Linked DNA regions of Homo sapiens: region 1 is linked to region 2. The links are contacts of gene promoters, found by promoter capture Hi-C in human tissues and cell types (Jung and others, 2019). All regions are on one chromosome and are shown on one strand. The core of a region is centred on a gene start or on the middle of the fragment in contact, and the rest is flanking DNA. Distances in the headings are between cores, read along the strand shown. Region 1 overlaps PDIA5 (protein disulfide isomerase family A member 5). Region 2 holds the start of SEMA5B (semaphorin 5B).

Region 1 (6,332 bases), core at 598-3,097, 110 kb before region 2:
TCATCCCTTTATCAGGCTCCAGGCCTTTGATGCCACTGCCCTGCCAGGGTGGCAAGTGGGTTTCATTCCACCTGCCAGCTTCCATCAGCGGTGGGCCTGAGACAGAGGCTGAGTCTGAGAACTCGCTCACTGGGAAGAGGAGCTGTGACCAACTTGCAACGTCTGCCACAGGCATGGGAAGCCAGCTGGGGTCAATACCAGGAGACCTCCAGTTTCCGCAGCTCGCACACATGGCTGTCTCCTGGGCTTTGGCCTCAGCTCCCAGAATTCCCCACCTCTATAAGGAAAGCACTCGCTGTCTGTGCTGGGCTTCCACACTCTATCGCAGCAGCCCCACCAGACACATGACACAGCTCAGTAGGTCCGTTTTACAGTGCCAGAAATTGTAGCTCTGGAAGACGAAGTGACAAATCCCCCAGGGCCATCACCACCTGCCACCTCTTCCTCCCAGCCCCTGCTCTGATGGATAGGCAACATCCACCCTGGACAACCCCTCGCAATCCTACCTTTGTTCTGGCCCCTGCTTTGAGTCTTCCCAGTTCACTGTAGCCCCATCGAATGATCTGTCTCTCTTCTAATTACAAAATACTTCTTATTCAGATATTTCTATGGCATTTAATTTTGTGTTGCTTTGTGACTGTGATATTGCTGTCTTCTGATATTTAAGGGCAGCCGGGGTATATTTTCAAAACATCAATCAGATCAGATCCCTTTGCTTAAAACTTTACAGTGGCTTCCTATCACAGGTAGATTCAAATCCAAACTTATTATGGCTACAGACCCCACACAAGCTGAGTCCTGCCTACCTTCAACCTCAACTCAGGTCACTTCTACTGCAGCCTCTGGCTCTCCTCTTCTCCCAACACACCAAGTTCATTTCTACCCCAGGGCCCTGGAACATGTTCTTTCCTACCCACCTGGAGCATACATACCAACATCTTCCCCCAGGTCTGTATGCGGCTTACCCCTCTTTACATCAGCCACTCAGGCTTCCACTCAAATTTCACCTTCTAGGAGACCCTCCCTGACCACCTATCCCAAAGGCGCCTCATGCTATCATGCCCTCTCCCAATATCCTGTTTTATTTTCTCAATTGTACTCAAAGCAGCTGGAGTAATCTGCTCACTTGTTCCCTGCCCATCCCCTCAACTGGAATGGAGGCTCTGTATGTGCAGGCAGGGGCTCGGCTGTCTTGTCTAATTGGCCACCATATTCCTGATACTGACCACGCTGCTCCACACGCTTTCTGAATGAATTAGCCTCATGACTTGTTAGGTTGTTAGGTTTACACCTGTACACACAAGGTTTGGCAGGACTAAATTCTTTATGGGCAAGGGTCATGGCTTGCACTCAAATAGTCGTTAATTTGACTAAACACCTCTAATTAGTAGAACTGGCAACCAAGCCAGTTACTATGCACATCCCCTCTCCTCTCCTCCCCACTACCATCTTTGCGCCTCCTCTGCACCTCACTAGGAGAAAAGTGTCTCCCAAAATCTCTAACATCTAAGGATGCTGTTCTAAAGTTTCCCATACATACCCTAGAATTCTCTTGATATTGTTAAGGTTTTCAATTCTAGCATCAATTCCCTCTGACCCTGAATAAGACACTAAGGCTAAGCAATAAACTTCTGCAAACAGAGTTTAAGATGAGGAGCCTGGCCAGGCCCAGAGGAGGAGAAAGGTCTGGCTGAGAAAACACCTCCCTTCCAGACACCCTCCTGTCTTGGGGAGCCGTGGGTGATGGATAGAGCTGGCGGTGACCTGAGGACCAGCCTCCTGGGCCTGGCCTTCATGATGTCCCTGGCTGTGGGACAGTTGGAGGAGGAGGGTTACATGCAGGGAGCGGGACTCCGGCCCACTGCATTTTGTGTCCTGATTGTGATTTGAGAGGCCATTAAGTTTTATTGCTAAACTTCCTTGTTGGGCTTTTATCATCTGTGTAAGTGCACTTACTCCGATTTCCGTGATCTGGCATAGAGGTCTGCACATCAACTCCTTGATCATGCTCTTTTCTGGCTGTGGGAATGTTGGCTTCCTGTCAACCCAAAGCCCTCGGATTCGTCTGGATTTCATTAAATTCAATTATACTTATGATTTTACTACAGGCCAGCTATAGGGCTTTCCTGGATGCTGGAACCAGAATTTCCCAGAGGACCAGATTAATCTGTAAAGCTCCCTGGTAGCCAGGGTACTGGGGTAGTACTTGGGCCTCTAGAAGAGCCTGGTTCCTGCCTTGCTTGGAATTTGGCTTGGGGCATGCCAGGGAGGGAGGGTTTCCTACAAATGCCAGCAGAAATACGGGCGTGGAGGGGCCTACAGAGACCTCAGAGCTCTTTTAAGGCTTCCAAACGCATAAGCACCAAAGTGGACTCCTTGACAGTTACAGGCATCTTGGGGCAGACTCACACACTCACAGATGCCTCTATTCATCACATGACCCCTCTTCTTATGCAAAGAGTTTGTTTTTTCCTTTATGTTAGCACAAAATGTGGATAAACAAGCTTTTAAAATTTTACTTCTAGGTTCCTATCCTAAGGAAATAATCAGACATGTAGACAAATATTTTTGCATTAAAATGTTCTTTGCAGCATGATTTATAATGGGAAATATGGTAAACAACTCAAACCTTCAACATTATGATGCTAGTTAACCAATTTACAGTGTCATTATATTCTACAGCAGAATATTATGTGGCCACAAAAAGCACGTACAAAAAAAAGCATTTTTAATAACATATGAAAATACCTACAAGATAATGTTAAGGGGACTATGTAAAGGAAAAAGATGCATAGAAAAGACTTAAATAAATAAAATTAGGGCCAGATGCAGTGGCTCATGCTTATAATCCTAGAACTTTGGGAGGTCAAGGCAGGAAGATTGCTTGAGGTCAGGAGTTTGAGACCAGCTTGGGCAACATAGTGAGACTCCACTGCTATAAAAATTTAAAAAATTAGCCAGGCGTGGTAGTGTGTGCCTGTAGTACTAGCTACTTAGGAGGCTGAGGCAGGAGGATCACTTGAACCCAGGAGTTTGAAATTGCAGTGAGCTATGATTATGCCACTGCATTCCAGCCTGGGTGACAGAGTGAGACCCTGTCTCAAATCCCTTCCTCCCACCTGGCACAATAGACAAATGAAAAATAGAGATGAATTAAAGAAAGAAATTAAAAAATAAAAACATTATAACAAAATATAGGGCACTATTTTAATATCCTAAGGGAGAATTTCCTAAACAACCCACAAATCCCAGAGGTCAGGATGGGAGAAGGCAGACTTGCAGAATGGCTCAGTGGTTAGGCTGTGGCCTCTGGGACAGCCTGGGATTTCATCCTGGCTGCACTTTTTGGCTATGTGACCTTTGGCACGTTTCTTGACCTCTTGGTGTCTCCCCGTCCTTACTTATAAAATGAGAATAATTAATCATGACATCAAATTCACGAATTTTTTATGAAGACTAAATCTGTTAAAATATGGAAAGTACCTAGAACAACGCCTGATCCATAGTAAGTGTGATCAGTGACCAATAAATATAATAGCTATTACTCAGCTACAAAGGATGTAAAGCTTTGTACAATGAAAGGCACCATAAACAAAATTAGAGCAAGAAATAGACTAATGGAACATGGAAAACACAGAAAACAGATAAAGATTAATATCTATAATTGTAGAGTTCTAGGTCAAGAATAAAAAGACAAATAAATAAAAAGACCTAGCAGAAAAATGAGCAAAGTGTATGAATAGGTGGTCCATGGAAGAAACATGAAAAGCTGATTATCACATGAAAAGATGTCCAGCTTCCCTAGAGGTCAGATAGCTGCAGACAAGTTGCTGTTTTGCCGAGCTTAGCAGAAATATAAAAGGCAGATAGTATCCATGGCTGCAAGGACAAAGGCTCTGTCACCCGCTGGGTTTGGGAAAACCTTTCTGTAGGGCAATTTGGTAGCATCTGCCAAAGCTCAAGCTTACTTACCCCAGGGCCAAGGAAATTCACTTTTAGGAATTAATCAAAAATATTTACACATTTTCCCAATTATATATGTTTACCAATGCTCACTGTATTGTTTGAATAGTGAAAAACTGGAGATAAATACAATACCTATCAGTAGGGGAATGGTTTAAAATTTCTGGCATATCCAAATTATAAAATACTATTCAATGGTTAAAAAGATTGAGGTAGATTTATGTGCCAATATCTACATTTACATGAAAATATCTTCGAGACCTATTGACAAGTTAAAAAAAGCAAATCACAGAAGAATGGATAGGAAGTAGTCCTACTTATGTTAAAAAACAAAAACAAAAAACCCAACCCCCTTTTTTTTTTTTTTTTTTTTTTTTGTCTTGTCACCCAGGCTGGAGTGCAATGGCATGATCTCGGCTCACTGCAACCTCTGCCTCCCGGGTTCAAGCAATTCTCTTGCCTCAGCCTCCCAAGTAGCTGGGACTACAGGCGTGCACCACCATGCTCTGCTAATTTTTGTATTTTTAGTAGAGACAGAGTTTCACCATCTTGGCCAGGCTGGTCTCGAACTTCTGACCTCATGATCCACCCGCCTTGGCCTCCCAAAGTGCTGGGATTACAGGCGTGAGCCACCATGCCCAGCCAACCAACCCCCTGTTGTTTAGGTAGAAGCACTGCGGAAGGAGAAGGAAGGATCCATCCTCTACTGTGAGTGGTGACCAGCCCTGAGAAGGGGCACGGCGTGGAGAGTGAGGGATTTTCACTGTCTGCACTATATTCTTATGTATCCCTTGAACCTTGCACTGCTGATAACAAGAATGCTGTTAATATTATTCTTAAATTATTTGTGCAATTAGAAAATACAAGTGGCCAAGTGCAGTGGCTCATGCCTATAATCCCAGCTGCTTGGGAGGCCGAGGCAGGAGAATCACTTGAGCCCAGGAGTTCAAGACCAGCCTGAGCAACATAGGGAGACTCCATTTCTACAAAAAGAAATCCAAAAAATTAGCCAGGTGTGGTGGCCCGTGCCTGTAGTCCCAGCTACTCAGGAGGCTGAAGTGGAAGGATCATTTAAGCCCAGGAGTTTGAGGCCAGCCTGAGCAACATAGTGAGACCCTGTCTCTAAAAAAAGAAAAGAAAAAAAACAGAAATAAATAAATGAATAAAATAAAATGACAGCATGAAGGCCCTTCGTGGCATGATAGTTACACAAATCTATACATGTGATTAAAAAAAAAAAAAAGGTCGATTTTATGGTATCCTCTTTTAAAAAATAAAAGTTAAAAATAAGACCAAAAAAATGAAAAAGACTAGCAAGAATGATGCCAAAAAGTAAAAAAAAAAAAAAAAAAAAAAAGTTGTTACCTCTGGATAATGGGGATTATAGGTAGTTTCTTTCCTTAATCACCTATATTTTACTATACCTTCTAGATTTTCTACAAAGGTTATATATTGCTTTGAGAATAAGACAAAAATACAGTTAAAAGCTTAAAAAAAAAGATGACAGCAGAAAATCTTGAGTCTGATGGGGACCTGCTGCCAGAAACAGCCCGGCTCCTGGAAGGCAGTGCAGATACATGCTGGAGGCAAGATATGGCAAAGAAAACATCCCATCTCAGACCTGTTGCTAAGGAAAATGGGTCGATGAGTCAGGGGGTAGGCAAGGGTAGAGCCACGTGGCCCCCAAGAAGCCCTGTAGCACAGGGGAGAGGAAGAGCAGGGGGTCCTCAGGATCCCCAGAACCTGCATGGGTGTCCACAGGCCTAGGAGAGACGAGCTGCTCAGGAACACCCCTCTCTGGGATGCCCCCCTTGCTCCCCTGAACATCCCCATATAAATGATGTCTACTCAGGTAGTGCCACAGCAGCTTGTCCTTCCCCTGCTAATGCAGACCTGAAGTTACTAGAGAGGGACAAAAAACAGTGACAAGAGGAGATGAGTGGCCACACACACTCTGACTTCTCTCATATGGAACGCCGCAGAAAAACACAAACAAAAAGGTGCCACGGGTGGCAGCAGCCACTGTCCTCCTGACACACCATTTGCAGAGAGCATCTCCGTCGCCTGCAGGGTGGGAAAACCGGGCCTGGGGCTGCATGTGAGGCCCCACTGTGAGGACCAGAGGGAGGTCAGGCACGAAGCCTTGCTACAAACGGGAAGCCAAGTGCTAGCAAGAGAGGCGGCTCCTGGCCTTGGGTCCAGGCAGCACCACAGACACACCCCTCTCAGAGCCCTCTGCTCACACTCGGCCTGTCCTGCCCAGGAGGCCCGGCCCAGCTCCTGGGGGACAGGGCTGTGGGGCAAACCTGGCTGTAAATCTCAGTGTGGCCTGTGGCAGAATAGAGATCGCCCATATGAAGGGCCTAGCA
Region 2 (5,923 bases), core at 2,306-4,805:
TGCTTTTATACATGCTACTTCCTCTGCCTGGAATACTCTGCCTCCTCCTGCTTCTCTGTCTGGCAAATTCCTGCCTTATCTTCCATTCTCAGCTAGAATGGCCATTTCCAATGAAGACTTCTTTGTCCTGTTTGGTAGGATGGTAACTGGCTCTCCATGTGCCCGCAGAGCTCCCATCCTGTGGCAGTCCTTGCATTTGCTATGATTACGTCTGCCTCCCCTGCCTGCCTGTGAAGCTCTTCCTATGACCTCTCTGCCTAGCTTAGTGAGTGACACTTAAATGGGAAGGAAGGAAGGAAGGAAGGAAGATCTCTTCTTTCACATTAGTTCAGGACAATGGCAAAGCAGTCATTCAGTGACACTTCAGTTCCTCTGACCTGAGCAAGGTTTTGGTTCACAAATTGACAATGACTTCTGGGGTGGGAATTTTCTTTTTTCTTTGCCATCCCCAGGCACAATGAGCAGGCAATTCTGGGAGCAGAAAACAATTTGGACATTATACGTGCTGTCTTTTTATTTTCAATTCTCTGTCTCCTATTAGTATATGACTGGCTGTTTGCCTTTTGCTGCAAGACAAGGTTTGTGTTTGTGCCTGGGCTATGCACAAGCATGTGTACACACACACACACACATAGAGGGGAGAGAGAGAGAGAGAGAGAGAGAGAGAGAGAGAGAGAGAGAGAGAGAGAGAGAGATGGCCTCTTGGGAGAGCCTGCACTCATTTTTTAGCTTTATCTCCCAGAAAATGCCCTCAGGTGGGAGGAAGAAGACAGTGTTGTGCTCCTAGCTTTTCCACCCTTTCCTGCTCTTGAGCATGAGAATTTGGATCTATTTCTTAAACTCTTTCAACCTTAGTTCAAGATAAGTTTGGAATTTCTAGGTCAAGAGTGAATCCTAAAAACTCCGTCACCCCCTATATTCACCGCTCTTTAGCTTGTTTGCTTGAGATAACACTGTGTTAATTACTATATTTCCATTCTGCTTAATTACAATGTTTCGGTAGAAGAAGAATTGCTCCTAACAGAAGCAATTATCTTATAGGTTATTGCAAAGGTCTAAGGAAGGTGGCAGAAGCTGGTTGTGATACTGTGGTGATGGAATCAATGCTCCAGGTTTTGTTCCAAGTAAATGATTCAGAGATTCTAACCAGGCTGGGTTTGCCAAAGAGCAGGTGGTAAGCCAGGCCAGTAAAGAAACTGTCTCTTCCGGAGGGTTGGGCTTCTGAAGCTCTCTTGTATTGAGAGCTCTTGAGTAATCACTGTTAATCAATACAATGCTTTAGGATGCAATTAGGATTAATTAGCCCAATGTTGCTAGCTGCCCTGCTACTTGGTCTGTCTCTTTGGGTGCCTCCTTGTCCTGGCTCCTGCTTCCCCTGAAAAGGAAAATTTCCCTCTTTGTGTCCCCAGCCTGGAGTCTCCTCTCTTCCCTTCCTGTGCCAAGCCCCCAAACCCCCTCTCCACTTTATAACATGGAGAGGGAGAGCCAGGAAAGGCCTTGACATGATAGTGGGAAGAAAAGAATGAACACAATCAAAACATGGTAGCAAACAAGAGGGCAGGTGAGAGAATGTGTGAAGGGTGGAGAATATTTTGGTTATCTTTCAAGGGAGAGCTGTGGCTGACAGAGCCACTCAGAAGGCATTTTGTCTATTCTCCCAACCAGACAAATTGGAAGCTCTCCTGTTCATTCCCTGGTCCTGCAGTATGGAATAGCTTCGTGGTTTTTTGTGTTAATTAAAAGGTATCTCTATATTGCACATACTTCTATTTTTTGTGATGACAAAAACATTCCCCATGGCTCTGCAGGGAATGGGGGTTGGGGGGGGGGCACGCTCATTGCAGTGGAAAGGTTCCACGGTGGAGATCAGGAGACCTATCCCTATCTCAGCCTGGGACTCTGGGAGAATGGTCCAGAGCTCATTGTCCTTGTTGATAAAATGATAGATTTGGACTCAATATCCCATGCTGCCTCTTCCAACTTGATTTTTACCCCAGACTGGGCTACCAGACTGGTATGCCCACACATGCCCGTTTCCTTTCTTTTCTTCTCTGCATCTCTGCCTTTGTGTCCAGAGCGTGTTTTCCCTTTGCAAGTTTCTCTCCATTCTGCACATTATGAGTTTCAGCATTTCTGTTGCCCTAGAAAGTCTATCTTTGAGATCTTGCACTGTTTCTCTTTTTACAGTGTCTCATAAACTCCCTTCTTGGATTCAGAACCACCCTTTCTTTCCCATTATCCTGTCAAACTGCTTCTTGCCATGGTCCAGGGGTAGGAGGATGGCAGGCAGGAGGTGCTTCTCTGGGGCTCTTAGTGTCTCAATTCTTCTGCTTTATCTGGGTTTTCCTTTACCCAGAATTTTATTATGTAAAATGCTTCACTCAGACTTTGTTCTAATTATCCAATTTTTGGCATACTCTAGAAAGTCTTTTGATATTTTCCTTCCTCCAACTTATCTATTTTTATTTCATAGTTCTCTTTGGTTATCTCTTAGAATCACACTTTCCTGGTTTTAATTTTTCAAATCCTTTGTCTTTCTCACTCGTTCTTAGGTCACCTTTTTTTACATTTTCAAATATATTTTTTGTTCAGCAGAGGGCTCCCTTCCCATCCCTCTTGCAGCCCGGGCAGCTAGGATTTGAAGCTTGCCCCTTGAATCTTTCTCTCCCGCCTTCTAGCCATCAGAAACACTAGATCACTTAAACTTGTAAACAATTCGGCCTCGCTCCTTGTGATTGCGCTAAACCTTCCGTCCTCAGCTGAGAACGCTCCACCACCTCCCCGGATCGCTCATCTCTTGGCTGCCCTCCCACTGTTCCTGATGTTATTTTACTCCCCGTATCCCCTACTCGTTCTTCACAATTCTGTAGGGTGCGTATTACTAACCCCAGTTTACAGCTGAGGAAACTGAGGCTTGGAGAGGTTCGCTCGGTATCGTACAGTTTGCAAGGTTAACCCTAATCCGGCCAGTTCTGGCTTTCCAGCCCAGCCCAGCAGCCTAGCCTCCCTCTCTGCCGCTGCAGGTTATAACGGCTCTCCCCCGTTTTACACGAGGTCCCTTCCCCTTCAAATCCACAGGCAGGAAGATCGTTCCGAACTGACGGGGCTGGGGAATGTGGGAGTCCGGAGTGGGGTTTGGGGGAGCTTCCTCAGGCCCTGAGTGTTGGGGTGGGCAGGCCGCGCCGATGGCCCTCGGGGATGTCACATTCGAGATGGGGTGACCGAGAACGGCAAGGCGGGATGTGGCAAACGGCGGCAAGTGCTCGGAGTCCTAGGTCTTGCCGCCGGAATGCCGGCCGGGGAAGGGGCTTCGGCCCACCGGGCTGGTCACCACACTCGGCAGGCCCGGGGCGGGAGTCGGCCGAGCAGCCGCGGGATGCAGGGCGCCCCCTCGCGCTCCTCCGCGCGCCTCGAGGCTGGCGGGTGCAGCGCCCGCCGCGGCAGGTCTGCTCCAGCCCCCTCCTCTTTTTCGCTCCCGCTCCCCTCCTTCTCTCCCTTTGCTTGCAACTCCTCCCCCACCGCCCCCTCCCTCCTTCTGCTCCCGCGGTCTCCTCCTCCCTGCTCTCTCCGAGCGCCGGGTCGGGAGCTAGTTGGAGCGCGGGGGTTGGTGCCAGAGCCCAGCTCCGCCGAGCCGGGCGGGTCGGCAGCGCATCCAGCGGCTGCTGGGAGCCCGAGCGCAGCGGGCGCGGGCCCGGGTGGGGACTGCACCGGAGCGCTGAGAGCTGGAGGCCGTTCCTGCGCGGCCGCCCCATTCCCAGACCGGCCGCCAGCCCATCTGGTTAGCTCCCGCCGCTCCGCGCCGCCCGGGAGTCGGGAGCCGCGGGGAACCGGGCACCTGCACCCGCCTCTGGGAGGTGAGTCCCGGGAGCCCCGGGCGCTTCCCCTGCGCGGGTTGGGGCTGCAACTTGCAAACTTCAGCAACTCGGGTGGGTATCGGGGTAGAGAGGTAGGGGTCCGGGCTCTGGCAAGTTGAAGCCAGGTAGGTGAGGCTGCGGGCGGGAGGACAGGGGGTCCCCTGGCTTCCGCGCCTCCCGCTGCCACCTCGGCTTGAGAGCCCTCATCGCTGCTGCGTTCCCGCCGCCAGCCAGCTTGGGTCCGGGTTGCACTGGGCCCTGCCAGGGCTGTGGTCGGCGCATCTGGGCTGCAGCGGCGATGGGGACCCGGGACCCAGGCCTGGAGAAGGAGACGGACGAGTGAGGCTGAGGGACGGAGGGACAGAGGTGCGGAGATGGAGGCTCAGAGAGGGCCGGCTAGTAAACAGCACTGAGGGAGAGTGCGGGCGGCGAGGCGCGTGGGAACGCGTGGCCCGCCCAGAGTGTGAAATCTCCCGCTCAGGGACGTCCCTGCTCCACCGCCGCCGCCTGCGGAGCCGCCGCCCGGATTCTTCCCAGACCCGCCTCCAGGACACTCTTGCCCTGACCAGGCCTGCGGAGCGTGAACTCTGCCCACCAGGCTCCAGGGGCAGTGGCTCAGGGCCCCGCACTCCCGGCTGGGAGGGTGGAGAGGGGTGCGGCAGCTGGAAGCAGGGACGCGAGCGGCGATTTCCCGATTTATGTTTCTCATGGTAATTTGTCTTTGTGGTTGGGGCTGCCCATTCACTTTCCGCTCACGTCCTGCGGGAGATCCAGCGAGGAGGGAGGGAGCGGGGGGCGCTCGGGCACAGAGAGGGATGCAGACGGGAGAGGGGATCGGGGACCCGCGCGGGGCGGGAGCCAAGAGGGAAGTGGTCGCCGGACCGGCGGAGGAAGAAGGCGAGGCTCGAGAAAACCCGGCCCAACGGAGCCGACTCCTTTGCCCACCGCAAACTTTAAACAAGGAGGAGGATCACCTGCAGCGCCGTTCTGGCCCCCTCCTCCCCGCCCCCGCCCCCCACCTCGAGCCCAGTCTTTGGGTAGTTCCGACTGCCCGCCGCGCCAGGCGGGAGTGGGCCGAGAGTCTGGATGGGGAGAGAGGAGCGCTGGATTCTGCCCGCACCCCTGCGATCCTGCCCAGGCTTTCTGCAGAGGGGCGGGGTGAGAGCAGCAGGAGCCGGGAGGGCGGGCTACCCTGGCATGCACTCCTTCCCGGCCAACGGAATTGGGACTGAGGGTTTGGAAGCTTGCCTGTGTCTAGACCTCACCACGATCCTACCTTCTCTGGCCCTAACCCCATCTTTTTCCTTCAGCCCCTAGTGAATCCGACCTCCTTCCGCTTTTCTCAGGCACCCCAACCCACTTCGGCCTCGGGGCCTCTCTCCACAGCCCTCCCTGCCTGCTTGCTCCTCGGCCTCCCCACTTCAGCTCATCTTTTTAAGCCTGTTCTCTTCTTGACAATCAGCAGTGGCCTCTCACCTTTTCTAAGCCGGGACAGATGACCTTGAGGAAGGGGCAAGAGGGGAACTTGAACCTTGTAACTGGACCTCAAGATTACGGAAAAGGGGGGCAGATTTGAAAGCAGCTTGGAAAGAAACAGCCAGTACCTTTCCCGAAGTCTAGATTTTCAACGGAGGAGGAAAGGAGATAAAATATAGGAGAGATGGGGGAACTTGCCACTTGGTCACTCATGGGGCGGTGAGAACTGTTCTGGGCCTTGGGGCGTGGGGGTAGACCACTCGGGGCAGGGCTGCCTCTGGCTTGCTGTGTTGGGAAAGGTGTGTGTAGGTGAGTGTGGGTTTCAGGGGGAGCTCTTTTCTCCATATCAACACCTATCACCACCAGTTTGGGAAGGAATGGCAGATCTTCCATCCCTTTTCTTTTTCCAAGCAGCCAGTGCCAGAGCCTTCCTCCTCCAAAGCCAACAGTAGCGACCATAATCATCACCGTGGACATCTAACACTGTTTAAGCACCTACTATGTGCAATGCACCATGCTAAATGCTGGTAGATAAAAAGAGGTACAGGGCCGAGCCCATGCCCAGAGAGGTTAGTAAGTTCACCAGTTTGATC

Evidence for each region. The method cuts DNA at HindIII sites, captures the fragments that hold promoters and counts their contacts. A contact is called where the count stands out against the background at its distance.
Region 1: a fragment that was not itself captured here is called in contact with the fragment with the promoter of SEMA5B in region 2 in 2 of the 25 tissues and cell types used here (H1 embryonic stem cells and pancreas).

What each region holds. Positions count from the first base shown.
Region 1 is chr3:123,134,734-123,141,065 of GRCh38, reverse strand. All of the region lies in intron 11 of PDIA5 (protein disulfide isomerase family A member 5), which reads right to left. Among named protein-coding and RNA genes, the nearest start is that of MIR7110, 24 kb to the left of the region's middle. The HindIII fragment of the contact is 5,721 bases long and covers 1-4,707 here.
Region 2 is chr3:123,025,395-123,031,317 of GRCh38, reverse strand. It overlaps SEMA5B (semaphorin 5B), which reads left to right and starts at 3,555. Exons shown (of 23, transcript NM_001031702.4): 1 at 3,555-3,854. RefSeq lists an enhancer at 2,444-2,951. The HindIII fragment of the contact is 5,774 bases long and covers 1,197-5,923 here.